Linked DNA regions of Homo sapiens: regions 2 and 3 are each linked to region 1. The links are contacts of gene promoters, found by promoter capture Hi-C in blood cells and fetal thymus (Javierre and others, 2016). All regions are on one chromosome and are shown on one strand. The core of a region is centred on a gene start or on the middle of the fragment in contact, and the rest is flanking DNA. Distances in the headings are between cores, read along the strand shown. Region 1 holds the start of GAPDHS (glyceraldehyde-3-phosphate dehydrogenase, spermatogenic). Region 2 overlaps NPHS1 (NPHS1 adhesion molecule, nephrin). Region 3 holds the start of LSR (lipolysis stimulated lipoprotein receptor).

The links. The method cuts DNA at HindIII sites, captures the fragments that hold promoters and counts their contacts. A CHiCAGO score of 5 or more calls a contact.
Region 2: a fragment that was not itself captured here is called in contact with the fragment with the promoter of GAPDHS in region 1 in 4 of 17 cell types (M2 macrophages, neutrophils, M0 macrophages and 1 more); the score reaches 7.7 in M2 macrophages.
Region 3: the fragment with the promoter of LSR here is called in contact with the fragment with the promoter of GAPDHS in region 1 in 4 of 17 cell types (monocytes, naive B cells, total B cells and 1 more); the score reaches 5.8 in monocytes.

Annotation. Positions count from the first base shown.
Region 1 is chr19:35,531,454-35,535,653 of GRCh38, reverse strand. GAPDHS (glyceraldehyde-3-phosphate dehydrogenase, spermatogenic) reads right to left here and starts at 2,198. Exons shown (of 11, transcript NM_014364.5): 1 at 2,060-2,198. The coding sequence starts at 2,126. RefSeq lists an enhancer at 1,212-1,341. The HindIII fragment of the contact is 5,250 bases long and covers 311-4,200 here.
Region 2 is chr19:35,833,870-35,838,069 of GRCh38, reverse strand. It overlaps NPHS1 (NPHS1 adhesion molecule, nephrin), which reads left to right. Exons shown (of 29, transcript NM_004646.4): 23 at 2,309-2,365. Among named protein-coding and RNA genes, the nearest start is that of NPHS1, 17 kb to the left of the region's middle. The HindIII fragment of the contact is 895 bases long and covers 1,365-2,259 here.
Region 3 is chr19:35,246,075-35,250,274 of GRCh38, reverse strand. LSR (lipolysis stimulated lipoprotein receptor) reads right to left here and starts at 1,273. Exons shown (of 10, transcript NM_205834.4): 1 at 1,144-1,273. The coding sequence starts at 1,252. RefSeq lists silencers at 1,110-1,179, 1,590-1,669 and enhancers at 782-1,583, 1,584-2,386, 2,520-2,689. The HindIII fragment of the contact is 9,039 bases long and covers 1-4,200 here.

The DNA.
Region 1 (4,200 bases), core at 949-3,448:
GCACTTTGGGAGGCCGAGGCAGGCAGATCACCTGAGGTTGGGAGTTTGAGACCAGTCTGACCAACATGCAGAAACCCCGTCTCTACTAAAAATACAAAAAAATTAGCCAGGCGTGGTGGCACATGCTTGTAATCCCAGCTACTCAGGAGGCTGAAGCAGGAGAATCGCTTGAACCCAGGAGGCGGAGGTTGTGGTGGGCGAGATCGTGCCACTGCACTCCAGCCTGGGCAACAAGAGCGAAACTCCATCTCCCAAAAAAAAATAAAAAATAAAATAAGCACTCCAGGCATTTCTTATCCTCAGGGAAGCTTAGAGAGTACCGTGTATCATACTCTGTGAAACCCATGGAAGCTCACATTGGCTCCCACCTCTCCACACACACTCCTGCTCCCAGACTGCACTTAAAAACACCTGCGCCTGGAGGTAGCAGCCGCCTGAGCTACAGAGGAGGGCTTGAGAAGAGGGGAGAAGTGGAGACTCAGGGGACCTGGTGGCAGAGAGTTTCAAGCTGGAAAGTCAAGCCTGGCTCAGTCCACACAGACCTGCTGCTCTGTGGATTTGAGCAAGTTAATGAACCTCTTGGGGCTGATCCCCCACCTAGGGGCTGCTGTGAGGGCGCAGTGAGATCTCGAGGCCCACACATAGGAGCTGATTTTAATAGAGGAGGGAAGTCTGATCCTACACAGATTCCTGAGGAAAGGGAGACAGCAGGGGGTGGAGAAGGGCTGGAAGGGGGTAGTGGGAGTCCAAGTTTTTGGCACCAAATCAAAGGCACCTGGGGGGTGGTGGGGCTGGGAGCCGGGGGCCAGCTGGCCTGTCTGTCTCCCTGACCTCTCCCTGTTGCCACAGACCTTGTGGCCTGAGGCTGGACTATAGGTGTTTCCAGTGGCTGTCCAAGTTCATGAAGGTGTTAGTGTTTATTGGTGAACTTGAGGATGTTTGCATCCTTGGGGGTTGTTTCTGCTATGGGAGAAAGGGGATTTGTCCACCTGGTTCAGGTGGGAATCTGAGCCCAATGGGTGACCCTTCCGAAGAAAACTCAGATGGTCCTCCTCTCCCAGCACTCCCAGCCTTGCACTCTCTTCCCCTCCACTGTAGGGGTGGGGTCCCCCGGTTGGAGAAAAGCCTGGGGGCTAGCTGGGTGCTGCCCCCAGCTCCTCACTGCGTCCTCCCACTGAATCCCGAGAGGCATGCGCTATAAACCCACTTTACAGAGGGGAAAATGAAGCCTGAGGCCACGGAGCAGTGATGCGCAGGGCAGGGGTTCAAGTCTCATGAGGCTGGTAAGCCTGTCTGCTCCTGTGTCTTCCAGGGTCTCCTGGACCAAAGCCCCAGCCCCACCTACCCCTGCGGCCCCCGCCCTTGGGAAGTGAGGGAACAGTGTGGGAATGGAGGCAGCCCACCGGAAGACCTGGTTCCTCCGGCTAGAGTGAGTGAGTGAGTGTGTGTGTGTGTGTGTGCGCGCGCGCGGGCGCGCCGCCCTTGTTGAGAGACTAAGGAAGTAGTTTGCCCTCTCTTAACCTCTGTTGGCCGCTCTGTAAACTGCGGGCACACTCTGGCCTTCTCAGGTGGTGGTGAGGCTTCCCTGAGCTCTCGCCTGCGAAGTGGTCAGCACGTCCCCGGCAAGGTTCCAAGTGTCCTTGTTTTGTGCATCACAGGGAGGGCAAAGCTCACCTCACGCGAAGCGCCATGAACATCACTTTTACATGGAAGCCCAGCACCCCTGGGTTCTCCCTAAGCCCCTCCTAAGCCCGCCCACTTCCCGCCACTTTCAGGCTGCAGCCTCCGATGGCCCTCGTTTCTGCTCTTTCTACCGCGTGATAGCGGCGCGAAGCCCACCCAGCCCTGGGGGCGGAGGCCCGGTCTCCCCGCCATGGCAGTAAACCCCACTCTGCCAGCACACTGGCGGGTGTGGAGGGAGGGAGAGCGGCTGATCCCCTGGTCCCTAGATGGTGCACACGCCAGGAAGGGCGGTAGGGATACGGCACAGGTGTGAGGGTGCAGACGCTCCCCACTACCCTTTCCACCCCTCCCCCGCGCCCTCCGCTGCCTCCCTCACCCGGGCACGGCTGTCGCAGCAACTGGACAACGGTGACATTGGTGAGGACGATGTCGCGCTTCGACATGGCCTCTTATAAGGTTATCATTGGCCTGGACCTGCTGTGATGTTACCGAGGTGCGTGCGGAGCGCCAGGGCTGTGGGTCCTGGGCTAATTGCCCTGATGTCACAGCACCCAGTGACGTCACAGTACCCAGTGACGTCGCCGAGGGGCGGCGCCCAAGCCAGAGGCCTGACACCATCGCATCCCATCCCCGTAGAGGCATGGGACGTCAGCACGCTATGCATCACCGTTCCACGGCCACGCACTGCCGTCTGGAATGGAATCCCACTTTTTAAAATTATCATTTGTTTATTTATTTTGAGACGGGGTGTCACTCTTTCTCCTAGGCTGGAGTGCAGTGGTGCAATCATGGCTCACTGCAGCCTTGAACTCCTGGGCTCAAGCGATCCTCCCGCCTCGGCCTCCTGAGTAGCTGGGACTACATGTGCAGCCACCACTGCAGGCTATTTTTACTTTTTATTTTTTTGTAGAGAGAGGGTCTCACTCTTTTGCTCAGGCTGGTCTAGAACCCTTGGGCTCAAGCGATCCTCCCACCTCGGCCTTCCAAAATGCTGGGATTACAGGAGCGAGCCACCACACCCAGCCTGGAATCCCACCTTTTACACTGTTCCTGAAAGCCCTTTCCTCTTCTCTGTCTCTTGAAGCACACAGGTTCCATGCTGTCCCTTGGATTCTCCAGTGGAGTGACTCTTGCTGCCTCCGTATGCCTGGAAGGCCCACCCAGGGCTTCCCTTGGCTGCCTCTTGGTTTCCCACCCTTTAAGAGAGGCTTTCTACACTCTGCATCTAAGTTCCCTCCTTTCTCTGTCACTGTCAGCCGTCACCCCCTTCCCAATTTCTGCCCATCTTCCAGGAAGCCTTGTCTGACTTCTCCATTCTGAGTTATGCTTCAGTGTGCAAAATTTCTCTAGGGCTACACTGTCTATGTTTTTATTTTCCTTAGAGCACATGTCTCTCTAAAAATTGTTTGTTTTCTTGCCAACTGTCTCTGTCCACCAGACTGTAAGCTCTGAGAGGACAGGGACGTCATCTATGTCACTTCTGTATCCCATTGACAAGAAAAGTGTTTGGCACCTGAAAGGTGTTTGTGGGCTGGACGCAGTGGCTCATGCCTGTAATCCCAACACTTTGGGAGGCTGAGGTGGGAGGATCATTTGAGTCCAGGAGTTTGAGACCAACATGGGCAATGTGGCAAAACCCTGTATCTACAAAAAATAAAAAAAGTAGCCAGGTGTGGTGGTGCATGCCTGTTGTCCCAATTATTAGGGAGGCTGAGGTGGGAGGATCACTTGAGCCTAGGAGGTCAAGGCTGCAGTGAGCTGTGATTGTGTCACTGCACTCCAGCTGGGAGACAGAGCAAGACCCTGTCTGAAAAAGGCGTTAGCCCAATAAACTATACCTGAATGAATAAATGTCAATTCCTCAGGTTTCATCTGATCGCTAATCTTTTCTTTTCTTTTCTTTTTTTTGAGACAGAGTTTCGCTCTTGTTGCCTAGGCTGGAGTGCAATGGTGCGATCTCAGCTCACCGCAACCTCCGCCTCCTGGGTTCAAGTGATTCTCCCGCCTCAGCCTCCTGAGTAGCTGGGACTACAGGCGTGCGCCACTACACCTAGCTAATTTTTTTTTTGTTTTTGTATTTTTAGTAGAGACGGGGTTTCACCATGTTGGCCAGGCTGATCTCAAACTCCTGACCTCAGGTGATCCATCTGCCTCGGCCTCCCAAAGTGGTGGGATTACAGGCGTGAACCACCTCGCCCGGCCCTGATCGCCAATCTTATCAAACTCTTCACGTTATATCTTCTCGCAGCACCCATTCTTTTCCTTGTAGCTTTTCATGTAGTTTGTCATGATCTACTGATTGGTTTATTTGTTCGATGTCTCCCCCTTGGGCTCTAAGCCCCTCACAGGGCTCCTGTTCTTGTTTGTTTGTTCACGACTGTGCCTCCAGCACTTAGAACAATACAAAGCAGGTTTTCAATGAACGTCTGACAAAGAACAAGTGGACAAACAGCTCCCTCCCCTGCAGCCCCGGGGTAGGGGTTTGCTTGCACCTCAGTGACTCACAGGCAGGCACCA
Region 2 (4,200 bases), core at 563-3,062, 300 kb before region 1:
ATGTTGTCCAGGCTGATCTCGAACTCCTGACCTCAGGTGATCCACCAGCTTCGGTCTCCCAAAGTGTTGGGATTACAGGTGTGAGCCACCACGACTGGACTAGTTTTCGTTTTTTTTTTTTTTTTTTTTTTAAGAGAATAACCTCAAATGCATATTCTAAGTTTTCATCTTAAGAAACTGTGGCTCATGCCTGTAATCCCAGCACTTTGAGAGGCCAAGGCGGGTGTATTACTTGAGGTCGGGAGTTTGAGACCAGCCTGACCAACATGGAAAAACCCTGTCTCTACTGAAAATACAAAATTAGCCGGGTGTGGTGGCACATGCCTGTAATCCCAGTTACTTGGGAGGCTGAGGCAAGAGAATCACTTGAACCTGGGAGGCAGAGGTTGCAGTGAGCAGAGATGGTGCCATTGTACTCCAGCCTGGGCAACAAGAGCAAAACTCCATCTAAAGAAAGAAAGAGAGAGAGAGAGAGAGAGAGAAAGAAAGAAGCTAATAAAAGACGAACAAATTAAACCCAAAGTAAACAGAAAGAAGAAAATAATAATGGTAAGAGCAGAAATGAATGAATTAGAAAACAGAAAAACAATTGAGAAAATCAATGAAACCAGAAGCTGGTTATTTGAAAAAAATCAATAACATTTATAAATCTGATTAAGACAAATAAAAGGGAGAAAATACAAGTTACCAATAACAGGAATGGAAGAAGGGATGTTACCACAGACTCCACAGACATTAAGAGGATAATTAGGGAATATTATGGATAACTTTATTCCAATAAATTCAGCAAGTTGGATGAGAAGGACAAATTCCTTGAATATGATGAATATGTTACAATTCTGATAGGCACAGTATTGTAGTGGTAAATCCTTCAGAGCCTGGTCCAGAGAAGCTTGGGTTCAAATCCCCTCTCTGCTACCTCTTAGTTGTGTGACCATAGGCAAGTGTCTCAGTTTCTAAAAATATATAGCACAGATCTTTGTGGCTCAGTTTATTTTTCTTTCTTTCTTTCTTTCTTTCTTTCTTTCTTTCTTTCTTTCTTTTCTTTTCTTTTCTTTCTTTTTTTTTTTTTTTGCAATGGAATCTTGCTCTGTCACTCAGGCTGGAGTACAGTGGCATGATCTCGGCTCACTGCAACCTCTGCCTCCCAGGTTCAAGCAATTCTCCTGCCTTAGCCTTCCAAGTAGCTGGGATTACAGGTGCATACCACCACGCCTGGCTAATTTTTGTATTTTTTAGTAGAGACAGGGTTTCACCATGTTGGCCAGGCTGGTCTCAAAGTCCTAACCTCAGGTGATCCACCTGCCTCAGTCTCTCAAAGTGCTGGGATTACAGACGTGTGCCACCACTCCTGGCCGCAAGCTTCTCCTTTCTGTTTTCCTCTTCCTGACAGAGCAGGCTTTTTCTCAATGGAAGTAAGGACACTTTTTCACCCCTACAATCTTCTCTGCTCTTCCCCCCACCCCACTCCAGTCTTCCCTTTGAACACTAAAACATAAAGTATGACACTTGCCTCCTTTGCTTTAGAACTTGTACCTTTATTAAGGGATCGAGAGCCCAAAGTCTTTTTTGGTTAACTCAACAAATTGATAATTCGGGTGAAAAGGACCTTGCACACCGAAAGTGCTCATCAACAGTTAATTTTTGGGCCAGGCATGGTGATGCATGCCTGTAGTCCCAGCTAATCAGGAGTCTGAGGCGGGAGGATAGCTTGAACCCAGGAGGTCGAGGCTGCAGTGAGCTATGATCATACCACTGCACTCCAGCCTGAGCGACAGAGTGAGACCCTGTCTCTTTAAAAAAAAAAAAATGGCCAGGCGCAGTGGCTCACGCCTGTAATCCCAGCACTCTGGAAGGCCGAGGTGGGCGAATCACGAGGTCAGGAGTTCGAGACTAGCCTGGCCAACATGGTGAAACCCCATCTCTACTAAAAATACAAAAAATTAGCCAGGCATAGTGGCAGGTGCCTGTAGTCCCAGCTACTTGGGAGGCTGAGGCAGGAGAATTGCTTGAACCCGGGAGGCAGAGGTTTCAGTGAGCTGAGATTGCGCCACTGCACTCCAGCCTGGGCAATAGAGAGAGGTTCAGTCTCAAAAAACAAATTATTCTTAGCATTAGCGTTACCATTAGAATTGCTATTAATAGTATTGTCATTATTATCAGCAATTTCTAGCTCTCTTTGAAATATTCTTAAGCAGTCATATACCAGTTCCCATGAATCTAATAGGCTTAAGAAGAGGCTGAGAAATATTTAAAGCTTATCTCAGATTCTTAGTGTTAAGTCACAATCTGTATATCCACCCCCCAGGTCTCCACCAGCCTTCTGGAGAACCTGAAGACCAGCTGCCCACAGAGCCACCTTCAGGCAAGTCCTCAGTCCCCTGATCCCTCCCGGCTCCCCTGAGAATGGAACCTCCTGGTCTCTGACCCTACCTCCTCTGCTTGTAGTCACAGCTGCTTAACGACTTAGTTCTGGCCAAGCTCAGTCGCTCACGCCTGTAATCCCAACACTTTGGGAGGCCAAGGCATGTGATCACTTGAGCCCAGGAGTTTGAGACCAGCTTGGGCAACATAGCAAGACTCCATCTTTGCAAAAATAAAAAATAGCTGGGTGTAGTGGCATGTGCCTGTAGTCCCAACTACTCAGAAGGCTGAGGTGGGAGGATTGCATAAGCCCAGGAGTTGGAGGATGCAGTGAGCTATGACTGAGCCACTGCACTCCAGCCTTGGCAACAGAGGGAGACCCTATCTCAAAAAAAAAAAAAAAAAAAAAAAAGACTTAGTTCTGTCCCTGCAGAATTGCAGACTTGCAGACTCCTTAGAGCTTCCTCTTTTTTCTTTCTTTCTTTCTTTTTTTTTTTTTTTTTTTTGAGACAGAGTCTCATTCTGTTGCCCAGGCTGGAGTGAAGTGGCAAAATCTTGGCTCACTGCAACCTCCACCTCCCAGGTTCAAGCGATTCTTTTGCCTTAGCCTCCCGAGTTGCTGGGATTACAGGCACCTGCCACCACACCTGGCTAATTGTTGTACTTTTTTAGTAGGGACGGGGTTTCACCATGTTGGCCAGGCTGGTCTCGAACTCCCGACCTCAAGTGATCTGCCTGCCTCAGCTTCCCAAAGTGCTGGGATAACAGGCATGAGCTACGGCACTCGGCATTTTTTTTTTTTATTTTTTTATTTTTTGAGATGGATTCTTGCTCTGTTTGTTGCCCAGGCTGGAGTGCAGTGGTGCGATCTCGGCTGACTGCTATCTCCACCTCCCGGCTTCCTCTCCTGCCTCAGCCTCCCGAGTAGCTGGGACTACAGGCACGTGCCAACACGCCCAGCTAATTTTTTGTATTTTTAGTAGAGATGAGGTTTCACCGCGTTAGCCAGGATGGTCTTTAACTCCTGACCTCATGATTCACCCACCTCAGCCTCCCAAAGTGCTGGGATTACAGGCGTGAGCCACTGCATCTGGCCAATTTTTTTTTTCTTAGATCTTCCTCTTGCCTGGAGTGATAAATTTTCTTCTCTTCCAAATTTAGTTTAATTCCGTAAGAATTAGCTCACTCCATGTCCTGTAAGAAGCCTGCATCAGTTAGCTTTTGCTGTATAATGAACCACCCCAAACATGGGTGCTTATAGCAACATTCTTCCTCATGATTCTGAGTCTGGCGGAACAGTGCTGGTCTGGGCTGGCTTAAATCATCTCTGCAGTCAGCTGGCAGCTCCACTGGACTGGGTGGTCTAGGGTTGCCCCCTTCCCACACTTCTGATAGTCATCTGGCTCTTGGTTGGAACAATGGAGATAACTGGGCGCGTGTCTCTTCTTGACTTTTTCACATGGAGGTGGTCACGGGGGTCAAAAGCAGCAATTTACTAGCTGATTCCGTCATAGTTGTGTCTCATTGGCCAAAGCAAGTCACATGGCTCAACACAGAGTCAGTGTGGAAAGGCCCCGCACTCAAGGATGTGACTACTGGGAGATGATTGCAACCATTTGGCAAAAAAATCCCCTTCAGAGCCCGAGAAAAAGGTTGCAAGTGACAGAAATGCAGCTGTTTTGTCAACACGAAAAAGAATGGCTTGGCTGGGCACAGTGGCTCATGCCTATAATCCCGGAACTTTGGGAGGCTGAGGCAGGTAGATCACTTGAGCCCAGACGTTGGAGACAAACCTGGGCAACATGGTGAAACCCCATCTCTATAAAACAAAAACAA
Region 3 (4,200 bases), core at 24-2,523, 280 kb after region 1:
CAGGGAGGTGCTTCAACAGGAACGCCACCTGTCACCAGCTTGACACTCGCAAGTATGTGGTTTACAGAGTGCCTGGCACACATTGTTCCTTAATTGCCAGGACCAGTGAGGTAGCCACGATAATCATGCCCATTTTATAGACCCGTGGGGCTGAAGTGGCAGGTGCACGGTGACACGGCCAGTTTCCTTGGACTCGCCCGCCATCCCTCTTCCCAGCCTGTGGCCTCTGAACCACACCAGTCCCCTCTTCCCTTTGCCATTCACCCACAACAAGGGGCCTCTGTGTGGCCTGGGCAGGCAAGCCCAGATGGCCATGTTGATGCCCCCAGCGCCCAAGGCCCCACTTCAAAACCGACTACGAAGGATTCCAGGTTACCCGGGGCCTTTTGAATTTGGAGGGAAAACCATGGAGTTGTTTGCCTGAACTGCTTTGCCATGGAGGGACTAAAGCCCCCACAATATCTCCATCAGCCTCCCACCACCTCACCCTACTCTAAAGTCATTTCAAATGACTGAACCAAAAGTGTCTCGGGAAAGACCTCATCACCACCCAAATATCCCATCCAGGTGAAAGCCTGCCAGCAGAAGTCGGTTTCAAGTCCGTAAATCCATCCCACCAGACTCTTACGCACGTATAATCCGGAGCCCGCGGGAGGTGGGTGGGGTGCGGGGGATGGGGAGTCCCCAGTCCCACACCCACCCGAGGCCTAGGCATTGTTCCTTCGTCTCTGTCCCTCTAGGAAGCGTCTGATCCAGCCCTCCCGTGCCCTCTCCCCGTTACTCCAAAACTTAGAAATCCCCGGGTGCGCCCAAGTCCCATCCCGGCTTTTCTTTTCCCAGAGATCGGGCGGTCTTCCACTCCCTCCCCACAAAGAGTTCCATTCTCCCTGCCGCTCCGGGTCTCACCGTCCAGGGAGTTTCACTTCCTGCTATCTTCCAGATAAGGGCGCGGGGAGCGCTCCCCGGCACAAATGGGGAATTCCTCTCACTCCCGCGCGCAACAGATCGCCCAAGACCCAGGGGATCGGAAGGTCCCAGCCTCTGAGACCCCCGCTTCCCGCTTCCCGCCGCCTCCAACTCCATCCATCCCCCTCTACAGTTCCCTCCGGCGTTCCGCAGCGTCAGAGGCCCCGTGCCCCGTACCTGTGCACCAGGTGCTAAGCAGAAGCCACACGAAGACGACCGCGTCCCGGCCTGCGGCGGCCGGGTGGGAGCCCAGCCCTCTGGAGAGCCCGCCGGCCAACAGCGCCATCGCGGCCGTCTGGGCGCGTCTGGCCCGCGCGTCCCTTCCAAAGTACCTTAGGGGGCGCGGCGCGCACCAAGGCCAGGAGGGGTGCACGCTCCTCCCCTTCCCACTTCCGTTCCTTGTCCCTACTCCAAGTCCGTCCTGTTGCATTCTGGAAGTTTTAATGAGCGTAAACGACGTGGACAAAGGGCATGCTTTCAGATATGGGGGAGAAAGGTGCTTGACCCGCCGCGGTCCTCCGAGCCACACTCCACCCGCTGCGCGCTCCGGTGAATGGTTCGGCCCAGGTACACAAGGGTGGGAGCCGAGGGCTGGGCTTAGGGGTGAGCGGCGGGGAGGGGTTCCTCTGCCTCCCTCCCCGGAAGTGGGCTGACCCAGGTGCGCTCCGTCCCCCAGGGCCCGAACCAAGTGACTGGCCCGCTGGGAGGGCGCCTGCGGACCACAGGTCCCTTCCGGCCCCCATCTGCTCCGGCCAAACCAAGCGCACCGAGATCCATGCAACCGAGACCCACTTGGAGCGATTCACCTGTTGAGATAGGGCGGGTCCCGCCGCGCACCTGTTCCCTCCCTGCCCAAACCCCTCTCCCCGGCTGGCGATGGACCCGCCTAGGTGCGCCCTGCCGGGAGGAGCGAGTCTAAGCAAAGTCCTGGCTGGGAGAGGCTTGTTGGTGGCGCCTGACTTCTCCACTTCCACTGGGGTTCCTCCGGACCGGGTGGAGGGGGGGCGCTTCGGGCCTCCTGTGTCTCCCAGTTAGATGACCTGAGGAACCCTCTAAAGTCCCCGGAAGGGAAGCTCTGCCCCCTCAGGGATGCCCAAGGGGAATCAGGGCCAGGAAAAGTTGGAATTCCACTTCGGAAGTTTTCGCCACCTCCCCCACCCGTTCCCAACTTGTGGTTCGGCCCCTGGGCATCCCTAGCCCCCGGGTCAGCCCTCCGGAAATTCTGGCTCTTAAAGGGGCCGAGCGAAGGCGCGGGGCTTGGGACCGGTTTCCGCTTAGGAATTCCCGGAACGAGCCACCTGCGACCGAGGGCGGGGGCGCGGCGCGGCGATCAGCCTGCGCAGCGCTGGGCGTGACTCTGCTGTCTCCAGGTGGCGGCGAGGGAAAGCGCATCCTGGGGGAACCCTGGGCGCTTCCTCGCGTTAGACTCCCCCAGGTTGCCAACTGGCCAGTGGCTGGTTTCGGTACCCAGGCGTGCTTTGTTCTACTGGCCCTGTTAAAACTCAAGCCAGATCACGTCCACCTGCTCACAGCCCTCCTGTGGCTCCTCCTCACTCTCAGCAGAAACTGACCTTCCCCCTCTTATCTCACCTCCTCCCACTCTCTCTGGCTTACTCAGCTTCGGACACCCTGGCCTCCTCGCTGTTTCCAACTATACTTCTCACAGTCCTCAGAGCCATCGCCCGTGCTACTCCCTCTGCCAGAACACCCTTCCCGCAGATGTCCACATGATCTTCCTCCTCCTGTAGGACACCATTGCAGTGACACCTTCCCTGGCCACTTTTTATAAAATTTCAACCCGTTCACGTCCCTTCATCGTTTAAAAAAATATTTTTATGATAAAATATGCAAACTATAATATTTATCGCTTTAACCACTTCAAGTGTAAAATTCAGTGGCATTAAGTATATTCACAATGTCGTGTACCAATCACCACTCTTTATCCCCGAAACTGTTTCATCATCCCCAACATAAACTCTGTGACCATTAAACAGTAACTCCCCATTCCCTGCTACCTGTGCCCCTAGTAATTTCTATTCTACTTTGCTTACCAAATTGCCCATTCTAGGTGCCTCATATAAGTGGAATCGTCTAACATTTGTCCTGTGTCTAGTTTATTTCACAAAGAATAATGTTTTCAAGGTCCATCCATGTTGTAGTATGTCGAAGCCATGTAGCATGCAGTAAGATCAAAATTTCTTTTTACAGCGGACTAGTGTACCATTGTATGTATATGCTACGTTTTATTTATCCATTCATTTGTGGATGGACCTAGGTTGTTTCTACCTTTTGACTATTGTAAATAGTGCAGCTGTGAACACTGGTGTACAAATATCTGCTTTCATTTCTTTTGAATATATGCCTAAGAATGGAATTGCTGGGTGACTTGGTAGTTCTATTTTTAACCTTTTGAGGAACTGCCAAACTGTTTTCCCCAATGACTGCACTATTGTACATTCCCACCAGCAATGCACGGAGGATTCCAATTTCTCCACATCCCCACCAAAACTTATTATCCATTTTCTTGATTATGGCCATCCTGGTTAGTGTGAAGTGGCATCTCATTGTGGTTGTAATCTGCATTTCCCCAATGACTAACGATGTTGAGCATATTTCCACGAATTTATTGTCCATTAGTATATCTTCTTTGGAGAAGTGTCTATTCAAGTACTTTGCCCATTTTTGAATTGGGTTGTTTGTTTTTTTGTTGTCAAGTTGTAGGAGTTCTATATATATTTTGAATATTAATCCCTTGTTAGATATATGATCTGCAAATATTTTCTTCCATTCTCCAGGTTTTTTCACTTTCTTGATAGTGTCCTTTGGTGCACAAAAGTTCTTAATTTGATGAAGTTCAATTTACCTACTATTTTTTCTTCCTTGTACTTTTGGTATCCTATTTATGCAGTTGTTGCCAAGTCCAATGTGATGAAGATTTTCAACAATATTTTCTTCTAAGAGTTTTATAGTTTTAACTCTTAAATTGAGTCTTTGAGCCACTTTATTTTATTTCATTTTATTTTTTGAGACTGAGTCTCACTTTGTCGCCCAGGTTGGAGTGCAGTGGTGTGATCTCCGCTTACTGCAACCTCCACCTGCCGGGTTCAACCGATTCTCATGCCTCAGCCTCCCGAGTATTTGGGATTACAGGTGCATGCCACCACACTGGGTTAATTTTTGTATTTTTAGAAGAGATGGGGTTTCACCATGTTGGCCAGGCTGGTCTCGAACTCC